3 separate regions of the Homo sapiens genome follow, and all the other regions are linked to region 3. The links are contacts of gene promoters, found by promoter capture Hi-C in blood cells and fetal thymus (Javierre and others, 2016). All regions are on one chromosome and are shown on one strand. The core of a region is centred on a gene start or on the middle of the fragment in contact, and the rest is flanking DNA. Distances in the headings are between cores, read along the strand shown. Region 1 overlaps JMJD1C (jumonji domain containing 1C). Region 2 overlaps JMJD1C (jumonji domain containing 1C). Region 3 holds the start of JMJD1C-AS1 (JMJD1C antisense RNA 1).

What was found. Contacts are between HindIII fragments. The CHiCAGO score rates a contact against its expected background, and 5 or more counts as called.
Region 1: a contact is called between a fragment that was not itself captured here and the fragment with the promoter of JMJD1C-AS1 in region 3, in 3 of 17 cell types (M1 macrophages, M2 macrophages and erythroblasts). The highest score is 7.3, in M1 macrophages.
Region 2: a fragment that was not itself captured here is called in contact with the fragment with the promoter of JMJD1C-AS1 in region 3 in 2 of 17 cell types (M2 macrophages and endothelial precursors); the score reaches 7.1 in M2 macrophages.

What each region holds. Positions count from the first base shown.
Region 1 is chr10:63,344,102-63,348,094 of GRCh38, forward strand. The region is part of intron 2 of JMJD1C (jumonji domain containing 1C); the gene reads right to left. Among named protein-coding and RNA genes, the nearest start is that of MIR1296, 27 kb to the right of the region's middle. The HindIII fragment of the contact is 5,906 bases long and covers 1-3,993 here.
Region 2 is chr10:63,364,178-63,368,064 of GRCh38, forward strand. The region is part of intron 2 of JMJD1C (jumonji domain containing 1C); the gene reads right to left. Among named protein-coding and RNA genes, the nearest start is that of MIR1296, 6.9 kb to the right of the region's middle. RefSeq lists an enhancer at 1,729-2,230. The HindIII fragment of the contact is 731 bases long and covers 1,608-2,338 here.
Region 3 is chr10:63,462,738-63,466,700 of GRCh38, forward strand. JMJD1C-AS1 (JMJD1C antisense RNA 1) reads left to right here and starts at 2,492. Exons shown (of 1, transcript NR_027182.1): 1 at 2,492-3,826. JMJD1C (jumonji domain containing 1C) reads right to left here and starts at 3,240. Exons shown (of 26, transcript NM_032776.3): 1 at 2,758-3,240. The coding sequence starts at 2,925. RefSeq lists silencers at 2,353-2,692, 3,233-3,382 and enhancers at 2,472-3,261, 2,883-2,952, 3,033-3,202, 3,653-3,702. The HindIII fragment of the contact is 1,793 bases long and covers 1,683-3,475 here.

The sequences.
Region 1 (3,993 bases), core at 104-2,603, 120 kb before region 3:
GGTAGTGTACAGTAACATTCTAGGCCTTCACATTCTCTTCCCACTCATTCACTGACATGCCTACAGCAACTTCCAGTCTTGCAAGCTCCATTCATGGTAAGTAACCTGTATAGTATTTCCTTTACCTTTTATATCATATTTTTTTGTACCTTTTCTATGTTTAGATACACAAAAACTTACCATTGTGTTACAATTGCCTAAAATATTCAGTACAGTAACATGCTACACAGGTTTGTAGCCTCAGAACAACAGGCCATACCATATAGCCTAAGTATATAGTAGGCAAACCATCTTGGTTTGTGTAAGAACACTCTGTGGTGTTTACACAGCAAAGAAATCACCTAAGGACACATTTCTCAGAATGTATCCCCTCCATTAAGTGATGCATGGCTATTCGTAAAAGAGAACTGAAAAAAACCTTTGTGATCACAGCAATGAGTTCTTAGGTATGACACCAAAATCTGACCCATGAAAGAAATAAAAACATAAACTTCATGATAATTAAGATCTTTTGCTACAGACTGGTAGAAGGCCATGTATCTGAAAGAGGACATACATTCAAAGTTGAAAAGAAACCATTACAACTTAAAAATAAGAAAAACAACAAAAAATGATTTAAACAAGCATGTCTCCAAAAAAAAAATAGACGGTAAAAAAGTTCACCAATAGTATTCAATACCTATTACCACAAGGGGAAAAAAAATTAAATCAATGCTGTACCACTACATATCTAACAGTATGCCTATAAAAAATAAAAGTCAACCCTAGTAATACCAAGTTCTGGTGAGGATGCAGATCAACTGGAACTCTCAAACATTTCAAGTGGGAATTAAACATAGTACAGCTACTCTGGAAAATAGTTTGGCAGCTGCTATTTATAAAATTAAATATATTCTTACCATACAATCCAGCAATACCCCTCCTAGATATCTGCCCAAATAAAATAAAAATGTATGTTCACACAAAAATCTGTATATGTATGTTTTTAGGAGCATGATTCAAAATCACTCAAAAGTAGAATGGGTATCTGTTAGCGGGTGAATGGATAATCTAACTGTGGTATATCCATACAACAGAATACTCATTAATAAAAGGAACAAACTGGCTGGGTGCAGTGGCTAACGCCTGTAATCCCAATACTTTGTGAGGCCGAGGTGGGCGGATCACCTGAGGTCAGGAGTTCAAGACCAGCCTGGCCAACATGGTGAAACCCTGTCTCTACTAAAGATACAAAAATTAGCCGGGCGTGGTGGCAGGCACCTGTAATCCCAGCTACTCGGGAAGCTAAGGAAGGAGAATCGCTTGAACCCAGGAGGCGGGAGGTTGCAGTGAGCCAAGATTGTGCCATTGCACTGCAGCCTGGGGAACAAGAGTGAGACTTTGTCTCAAAAAAAAAAAAAAAAACAAAAAAAAGGAACAAACTACCAATCTATGGAACAGCATAAATGAATCTCAAAATTAATGAATGAAAGAAAGAAGCCAGCTTTGAAAGGTTATATACTTTATCATTACATTTATACAATGATCTGAAAAATGCAGAAACTAGCCAGAGGTTAGGAGTAGGGAGACAACTACAAGGGGGCAGCACAGGAAAATTTTTAAGGTAAGAGAACTATTTTGTATCTTGATTGTGGCAGTGGTTACCTGAGTCTATGAATTTGCCCAAACTCAAAAAATTGTACATGGTAAAATAAATGAATTTTAGTGTACACACATTTTTATAAAACCAGTAATTTTTTTTTCCAGAAATCATACTCAAGTACTAAGTAAAGCACGGTCTTTAACTCAGTACTAATTAAAGGAGACAGGGAAAAAGGTACATACGGAATAAAAGGAAACAGACCCAACTCTTAACCGTGGTTAACTTTAAAAAAAATTAAAGATGATTTATTTTACTCCTTACGACTTTCTGTGTTTTTCACAAATCATGCAGCAGATATTTTTAAATCTTATAATCAGTAAATGGGGTCTCACTATCTTGCCCAGGCTGGAATGCAGTGGTGCAATTATAGAACACTACAGCCTTGAACTCCTGGCCTCAAGAGATTCTCCTAACTTAGTCACCCAAGTAGCTGGGACTACAGCTGTGTGCTACTCTGCCCACTGGGAAATGAATCATTTTTTTAAAGTGTGATTAGATACTACAAGATACAGAGATTTCTCTGAGTAGCTGAGAAGCAACTAAAATAAAGCCATGAAAAGGGGAAACATAAGATAAATGAAGAGGAGGCTCTAAAGCCTATGAGTGACACTAGTTTTGTTAAATCAAAATCTGGCCTGAAACAGCCCTAAAGCATACTTGGGTTCTTATGTATGAACTGCAACCTAACTTATTAGGTAAGCAAATTCTCACTTAGCAATATGCTTCTGTAACAATAGCTAAATCTCAGCCAACCACAGCAGCCATACTTCAACCACTCATGAATAACCAACTGTTCAAACCATGTTCATTTTGCCAAATAAAGCAAATAAACTATAACCAATTCACTTCTGTACCTCATATTTCCATTTTCTATACATCACTTTTCTTTTTCTGTCCGTAAATTCTCTAAGACCATGCAGCAGTACCACAGCCTCTCTGAATCTGCTCTAAGGGCTACCCAATTTGTGAATCATTTTTCCTTGCTCAGTTAAATTGTAAAATTTGTCTGAAAGTTTTTCTTTTAACAGTCTATTGGTCTATCTACTTGGCTACTATTTTTAAGAGACTTATCGTATCATTCAGTGTCATACCATAATTTAGCGCAACTAAAATATCATTTTAAAAGGCAGTTTTAAAGTTCATCTGCTAATGAGTAATACAGTTTTGGGAAAAAGTGAAAGTCCTAAAATTTCAGGACTTAGGTCCCCCTACACCCCCGGCCCTCCATGATACATATTTTCACACCAAAAGTAAAGTTGGCCCCTCAGGGATGACATTTTTAATGAGCTTTTACTATTCTGCAGTATAGAACAAATGAAAAGAATTTTTTTTTTTTTTTTTTTTTGAGACAGAGTCTCACTCTGTCACCCAGGCTGGAGTAGTGTCATGATCTCAGCTCACTGCAACCTCCACCTCCCAAGTTCAAGGAATTCTCCTGTCTCAGCCTCCCAAGTAGCTAAGATTACAGGTACCTGCCACCATGCTTGGCTAATTTTTGTATTTTTGTCAACTCCAACTTTATGCCTCCTTGTAAAAATTTTTCAATAAAGAAATTACGGGCCGGGTGTGGTGGCTCACGCCTGTAATCCCAGCACTTTGGGAGGCCGACGCGGGTGGATCACGAGGTCAGGAGTTCCAGACCAGCCTGCCCAGCATGGTGAAACCCCGACTCTAATAAAAAGACAAAAAAAATTAGCCAGGCATGGTGGCGCACGCCTGTAGTCCCAGCTACTTGGGAGGCTGAGGCAGGAGAATTGTTGAACCCAGCAGGTGGAAGTTGCAGTGAGCCAAGACTGCGCCACTGCACTCCAGCTTGGGCAACAGAGCGAGAGTCCATCTCAAAAAAAAAAAAAAAGAAAGAAAAGAAAAAGAAAAAAAGAAATTACAGGGCAGGCGTAGTGGCTCATGCCTGTAATCCCAGCACTTTGGGAGGCTGAGATGGGTAGATCACCTGAGATCAGGAGTTCAAGACCAGCTTGGCCAACGTGGTGAAACGCCCCCACCCTACTAAAAATACAAAAATCAGCCAGGCGTGGTGTGGGCACCTGTAATCCCAGCTACTCCGGCGGCGGAGGCAGGAGAATCTCTTCAACCCAGGGGGTGGAAGTTGCAGTGAGCTGAGATTGCACCACTGCCCTCCAGCCTAGGCAACAGAGCAAGACTCCATCTCAAAACAAGAGAAATTACCGCTGGGTGCAATAGATCATGCCTATAATCCCAGCATTTTGGAAGGCTAAGGCAGGCAGATCACTTGAGGTCAGGAGTTCGAGATCAGCCTGGACAACATGGTGAAATCCACCTCCACTTACTAAAAATACAAAAATTAGCCAGGTGTGGTGGCGCATGCTTGC
Region 2 (3,887 bases), core at 723-3,222, 99 kb before region 3:
TTTAACTTTTATGTACAGATGAGGACTTACTATGTTGCCCAGGCTGGTCTTCAACTTCTGGGCTCAAGCGGTTCTCCCACCTTGGCCTCCCAAAGTGCTGGGATTGGAGTGGGCAAGGGGTCAAAACAAAAACCTAGTGCTGAGATTACAGGCGTGAAGCCTGGCCCAGTTTTCTTTAATCCTGTTAAATTGGTCACTAATTGACACCCACTCCCTACATTCTAAAAATGTATTTCTATCTTGTGACCATTATCTCTTACTGTTCATCCTTTTTTTGTTGTTGCTATCTTGGTGCGATTTTGGAGGAAGCAAAGATAAGCAGGTTTTTTGTTTGTTTTTTGAGACAGGCTCTCACTCTGTTGTCCAGGCTGGATCACAGCTCACTGCAGCCTCAAACTCTTGGGCTCAAGAAATCCTCCCACCTCAGCCTTCTAAGGAGCTGGGACTACAGGAAGGCACCACTACACCTGGCTAATTTTTTGTATTTTTTGTAGAGATGGGGTTTCACCATATTGCTCAGGCTGGTCTCGAACTCTTGGACTCAAGTGATTTGCCTGCCTCAGCTTCCCTAAGTGCTGGGAGTACAGGCCACCTCACACGTGGCCGAGCACATGTTTTACCAGACAAATTTATCCAAGTCTCACCTAGATCAAACAAAGGGATGAATTACAGGATAATGTGCTAGCTGCTCTCAAATCCCACCATACTACAGCTATAGCAACCTACTTAAAATACAAAATTGATGATTTAATCCAGATAATTTTGGTTCCATGGCTTTCCATTCCCTACAGGAGGAATATTTCCAAAATTCTATTGTAACACAAGACCCTTTATGATTTGATCACCGCTTACTCCACTCCATCACAATTATTCTACCTATGCCAGCTTGGCACAAGACCTTGGGATTTCCCAATCAGGACCTGTTTTCTCATACAACGCCTTCCAACCTTTTTGGATCAGAAAATGCCAATTCAGCATTTAAAATCATAGCAAGCCTCATCCTCCTCTGTATCACTTTTCCTTAGCCAAGCCAGGCACTTCCTCTTCATTTGTCCCATTTTTATAAACTTTTATTCTATAACTGAATGTTTCATTTTCCACTTGTACATCTGTCTCCTTACTCTCTATACCTCCTGAACACAAAAATTTTAGTTTATTCTCATTTATATCTCCAAATCTTAAATTGTCTGATCAGAAGTAAACTAAAATAAAAATTAGGTTGTTTTCCTTTTAAGACTTTTCCTGAAACTAGGTTGATCAAAAAATACAAATGTTTTTCCATGATTATTCTCAGTAAGATTCAGTAATTCAGGCCAGGTGCAGTGGCTCAAGCCTGTAATCTCAGCATTTTGGGAGGCTGAGGCAGGTGGATCACGAGGTCAGGAGTTCAAGATTCAATAATTGGCAAGGTATAAGCTCCACTAGAGGAGAAAAAAAAGTATTATGCTAAAGATGGACTATTTGGGTTCCATTTTCACTCTCAGTTGTGCTACTAATTAAAATGAAAATGTAAACAAATCAATTAACATGATTATCCCAGACCTTTCTTTTCTTACTGGAAAAAAGAGGGCATTAAACTGGATGATGACAATAACACCATAACTACAAGCTTTTATAAAAGTCCTTTATATACAGTGTTAATACAGTGAAAGATCAACCTTATTGAAAGAGGTCTGGCTTCTGCCCTCAGCTACTGGGAAACAATCACTAGGCCTCTGGCATGTCTTGGCTGATACGAGTGTTTTTGTTCGTCTGGGGGCTTTGGCCACTGGACTATCTAAAAATGTGATTTACAATGGGAAGTACCCAGAAGAATTCCATAATGAAATGGGAATGGTCTGTGCAGGAAAATGCTACCAAAGGAACATATCATTATAATGAGCACATAGACCCTACTATATAACAGCACACAGTATGGCTTTGGGCCACAAAGTAATAGCTGTGACCTCCAGAGAAAGGAATAACTAAAGGTAATAGTTTGACATTCTGGAAGCAGCAGGAGACTAAAGGTCAGCCATGTGGGTGGTATGTGATCAAATCCCAATACAAACAATGATCACCAAAGGCTTTGCTGAGATTCCCTGTTTGACAATATTCTGTGAGTACTGTCATACACTGTGATTGAAATGAGCTAATGTTGTCTATGATACCACAGAGAGAGGGCAATCAGAAACTCTACATTTGGACTCCTCCTGGATTCTGCACCCTATGTCTCTCTTCCCTTGGCTGATTTTAATGTGTATCATTTCTACGTAACAAACTATAGCCATGAATATAATGAGTTCTGTGAGTTCTTCTAGCAAATTATCAAACCTGAGGTTGGTTTTGGAATCCCTCAAGCTTGCAGCAATGGTATCGGAAGTGGGCACAAGAATGACATTAACTTGCTGAAGCTGACTCACTGAATGAAGAGAAAGAATGAGGGATGACAAACCTTTGTTTCCTGGATGGTTACAAGGCCACTCATGGTATAAAACTATAGCTGTGCTATAATCATTTAATGGAGGTAAACATTACCAGTGGAATTTACAAATAATAGCTCCAACTACAGCTGTATTACAATCAATTAGTAGAAATAAAAGTTACCAGTGGGACTGAGAAATGATGGATCCAACTCCTGGGTGCCTGGGTCACTGGATACATAAGAAAATGTTACATAAACAATAAATAAAGTTACTATATAATCCCTTGATTATTGTTACCTGGAATAGCGAAACAGAAACGCAAATCCTAATGCTGGGCCAAGCCTGGTTTTTGGCCAGATCCAGTTATAGCCAGTAGTCACAGACCCACTGCCATATGTAAAAGTCTTACCAAAATAACAGGCAATAAAGATTCATAAGACAATGGAGAAAAAGAAAGAGGAGATTCAAGAGACTAGTCCCAGCTGGGTGTAAATCTTTAAACAGTTATTGAGAAATGGGATAAAATATTGAAGCCAAAACAAAGGTCACACTGCAGCACTCTCAGAGGTTGAGTGGACCAATGAGCCCCTGCTGGTCTCCTTCCATTAAAGAGCCCTAAACAAATCTGCTTTATTCACCCTAGTTTTTTTTTGTTTTTGTTTTTGTTTTGTTGTTGTTTGTTTTGAGATAGAGTTTCATTCTTATTGCCCAGGCTGGGGTGCAATGGCATATCAGTTCACCGCAACCTCCACCTTCCAGGTTCGAGCAATTCTCCTGCCTCAGCCTCCCGAGTAGCTAGGATTACAGGCATGCGCCACCATGCCTGGCTAATTTTGTACTTTTAGGAGAGATGGGGTTTCTCCATGTTGGTCGGGCTGGTCTCAAACTCTCAACCTCAGGTGATCTGCCAGCCTCGGCCTCCCAAAGTGCTGGGATTACAGGAGTGAGCTACTGTACCCGGCAATTCACCCTAGTTTGAGGAAACTTTAAAAACTGGAAGGCAAAAATGACTAAGAAAAATCTAACTTCAACTTGCCTAAGCCAATGCTTAGATAAGGCCTGAAGAGAAGACCTAGATTCCTTGCTAGTCCCTAGCTGGGGACCCAGAGTCAAATGCTTTTAAATGGATAAAATAGTTAAGCATAGAGATGTTTCCACGAGAGACCCATGCACAGAACTTACAAATCTGTTGGTGAAGTCCTAACAGGAGCTACAGTTATACTGGAAAGACATAACAACACAAGAGTTTATGGATCAAGGTAAAACTCTGGATTAAAATAAGAATGTCTGAATGTACTTTATGTACAGTAGTGTGTCTCCTTCACCTGAATGCATTATGGAGATATTTATTACGTCTGACTGGCGAATGTTTCCCCTACTTAAACAGAATACATATAAATCTTCCTATCAGGCAATATTTATAGGACATGCTAATTGAAAGCCAGTGAAAATGCCTGAGCCCATCCAAATTAATTTCAAATA
Region 3 (3,963 bases), core at 1,242-3,741:
AGGAAAGAAAATGGATCTCTCCTAGAATAAACAGTCTTGCCACACTTTGATTTTAGCCCAGCAAGATCCAGGTCTTATTTGTGATCTCCAGAACTACAAAATAATAAGCGTATAACATTTAAACCACCAAGATTACGTTAATTAAACAATTATAGAAATTTAATTCACGTGGCAATTCCTCATACATAAGACCCAAAATAAGAATAACTGATTATCTTTGAGACACAATATTCCCTCAACTACTTTGAAGTTCTTATCATTATCCTTCCAAATCATGTGCCACAGGTTTGTGGCACATGTCCTGCCTGGTGTATCCAGCCAGGACTTCTAGTAGACTTAACAGGTTTTTAATTATACATATTTGTAGCTTTAAAAAAAAAATCACAAACTAGCCTATTCAACATTTTCCATATACTTTCTTTTTACATATTTATTTATTTATTTAGAGACAGGATCTCACTCTGTCGCCCAGGCTAGAGTGCAGTGGCATAATCTTGGCTCACTGCAGTCTCAACCTCACTGAGCTCAGGTGATCCTCCCACCTCAGCCGCCCCAGTAGATGGAACCACAGGCATTGTACTACTATGCCCGGCTAATTTCTGTATTTTTTGTAGGGACAGGGTTTCGCCATGTTGCCCAGGCTAGTCTCAAAACTCCTGCGCTCAAGTATCTTCCCATCTCAGTCTCCCAAAGTGTTGGGTTTACAGGCGTGAGCCACTGTGCCTAGCCTAATTTCATGTAACTTAAAATCTACTCTGCAGTAATCAAAGTCGAACAGGAATATTACATTATGTTAATGCTAAACTGTTCCAAGTTTCGTTTAAGAAATGTGAATGTAAGAAAATCTGGGAATAAATCTAAAATGGTAGATTCTAGGCTAAAAAAACTAAATTAATATTCAAATTTTCAAATAAAGACAGATTAAAAAAACTCATCAAGGGTTCACATAGGTATGGTTCAACATACATTTTTCTTTTTTTGGTAAAATTTAGATATGGTGAAACGCAAAGATAGTATCAATTCAACGAGTTTTGACAAATATATATATCTGTGTAACCAACAATCAGGATAGGAAACATTTCTATCACCTGAAGAAACTCCTATTCTTTCCAGTCAATCTCTACCATCCATAGATAATTTATTTTTTAATATCCAGCTTAATACCTTACTAACATATGCAAACTTAACTCTTTAATCACTTAAATTCCCAACTAAGAGAGCAATTAAGTTATTTATATATACAAATTTTTTTTTTCCTTTTTTACAGATGAGGGGGTCTCACCTATGTTGCCCAGGCTGGACTCTTAATAAGTCCTGGGCTCTAGCAATCCTCTTACCTCAGCCTTTTACACAAACAAAAATAGTTACTGAATTGAACTGCCATAATTTTTAGAACCACTAACATCACCAATACTTTTTAAGGAAGATTATACATTTCTATACGAAAATAACCAGCCAAAACCTTCAAAACTACCTCTATTTTCTGTTAGAAATACCTATCAGCAAAACACACCTATTTTGCGATATCGAGTCAATATTAATACATGCCGCATTAACCATATCATTGACTACAGTGAGGAAAACCCGAGTTTACAAAAACACACTCAGAAACTATTAAAATAGGTAGGTAAAAAATATTAGGTAGATACCTGTACAAATATTACAATGAATTTGGAATTGTAAGCTTTCATGCACACAAAGGGAAAAAAATTTCCTAAATTTGAAGTTTTCATTGAAAAAGTAAATGGCTCAGGGCATTACAAATAAATTTCACAGATTACGTATTCATAAATCAACCTTTGGAAGTCTAGTCCATGTCTTGTCTCTACTCCGCCCCTTACCTTCAAGCTGTCCCTCAGTGAGAATGTACTTGGAACACAACAGAGCATATTACAGCTCAATATCATGCACATACCTACGCTACTCAAAGAAAGCACTGGCAGCGTCACATGTAAGAAACCAAAAAAAAAAAAAGATAATCAATTCTGCATGGCATTTAACATTTTAATTGACAACATTTTTCGTCTTATTTAAAATCGTATAAAACCCAGAAACAGCTTGACTCCAAAGAACTATACCTTTCTAACAAGAAAAGCACATTGGGGACAGAAAGAGAGATTACCCTCCATACCAAAATTTTTCACTTTTATCCTTTACGGTTAGAAAGCCAAGCATCTATTAAGGAGAGGATGAATCCGGGCACAGCCACCACCACGGCCTCTGCCTCTAAAACACATAGGAATCCCCGGACTGTGTGGGAAGGTCTCTTTTCTTTTCTCCCTCCCCTTCAGCAACCTTACAGGATAAGTTTTAAGTCTCGAGCTACAGCACTATGAAGACTTTTCCAAGAAAAGAGATACCAGGGAAGCTGGCCGCCTGTCGCCATGAGTGGTCCGCCCCCTACCCCCACCTGCCCGCGCGGCGCCGGACTCGCGGCTCCGCCTTTCGGGGAGGTCTCCGTGGCCGCCCAGGCGCCACAGCGGGGAGCCGCGGTCGACCCCTCCGGGATGGGGGCCAGGGCAGCCTCCGCGGCTATCCCGGGAGTCCTGCTCCGACACCACCTCCACAGGGGAAGCCGCTCGGAGAGACGCAGGGACCCAGGCAAGGGATGCGGGCAAACGCGCCAAGGGTTCAGCAGAGGGGCGTGACCGCCAGTTGGCCGGGCTGAGCGAGGCGCCAGAGGGAAGCCTGCAAGGTACGTCTGCGAGAGCCGGGTGCGGGCGCGGCAGGGGAAAAGGGGGGCGCTGACTCTCTTACCGCCAGGTCCGGATTGCGGCTGTCCCTGTGTGACACGGCTCGGATGACCCCCGCTCGCCAGCTTCGCCAGCCGCGTCCGCTCTCCCAGCGCTCCGAACGTGCCTCGTCGCCGACCGCCACACACAGGAACCGCTTACCCACCAGCTCTGCCCGCGTCTCTACCGCCATAGCTGTCGCTGCCGAAGCGGCCGCTGCCTCCTCCAGTGCGAGGGAACCGATGAAACCTCACTCCTACCGGCCGCTCATGCTGAGGAGAGCGGACCGGGACACAGCAGCGGACCCGAAAGAGCGCAGACTCGGGACGAACCGGCCGCTCTGCCCCGGACACAGCGACCTCGGGCCCTCCCCGCAAACACTCCTTTGGACTCCCAGATTCGCAGCCTTGTGCTGCAGCGCCACACAAGAAAACTGAAACAAAACCCAACGCGGCCGTCGAAGACCCCGAGGCAGCCCAGCCGCCGCCACCGCGCCGCGGCCAGTACTGCTCCGTCTCCCTCCCCGGGCAGCGGCGGCGCGCAGCGCGTCTCCTTCCGCCGGCGCGGGCGGGGCAGCAGCCGCGGGAGGGTCGGCGGAACCACCGCAGACGGAAAGTAGTGCCCGGCCCTGCGGAGGCGGCAGCGGCCACTGGGTCCGTCCAGATCCAGAGGCGGCGGCGGCGGCGGCAGCGGGAGACGAAAAAATGAAGAGGGCCGCGGGAAAGTAGGCGACAGCTATTCAAAGCTTTTGGGGGTCTACCTTTGTATTCGTTGCTCCCTCAGAGGTGGAGGTGAGGGGAAAGTGAAGTGTAGTGGTTCCACTCTGATCACAAAATAAACTCCTGGGTTGACGCCTCACCCGCGGTTTGATGTTCAGAGCACACAGCGCCCGCCGCCTGAGTTAGCCTGAATTAGCAGTCCCGCAGTAACAGCAGCAGAGCAGGACAACACTTCTACTGAAAACTAAGCCCCAAAGTCACAGCAGAACCAACCGTTCATGACTTCAAGGGAAAACGAGGGGGAAAATGTGATCCTTTCATTCTTCTCATTTGTGGTGATACTAATTACATGTTTAAGCTATTCACAGATTTAAATTCGTCACTGCTTTATTATAAGAACAGCAAATGCTCCGTGGCGGGCCCTTGTCAACGTCCTGAAATTTCACAAACCGTGTCTGCGACAGTCTTAGTACTTTTAGTACTGGTACACAGCTCAAACACACTGGTCAGAT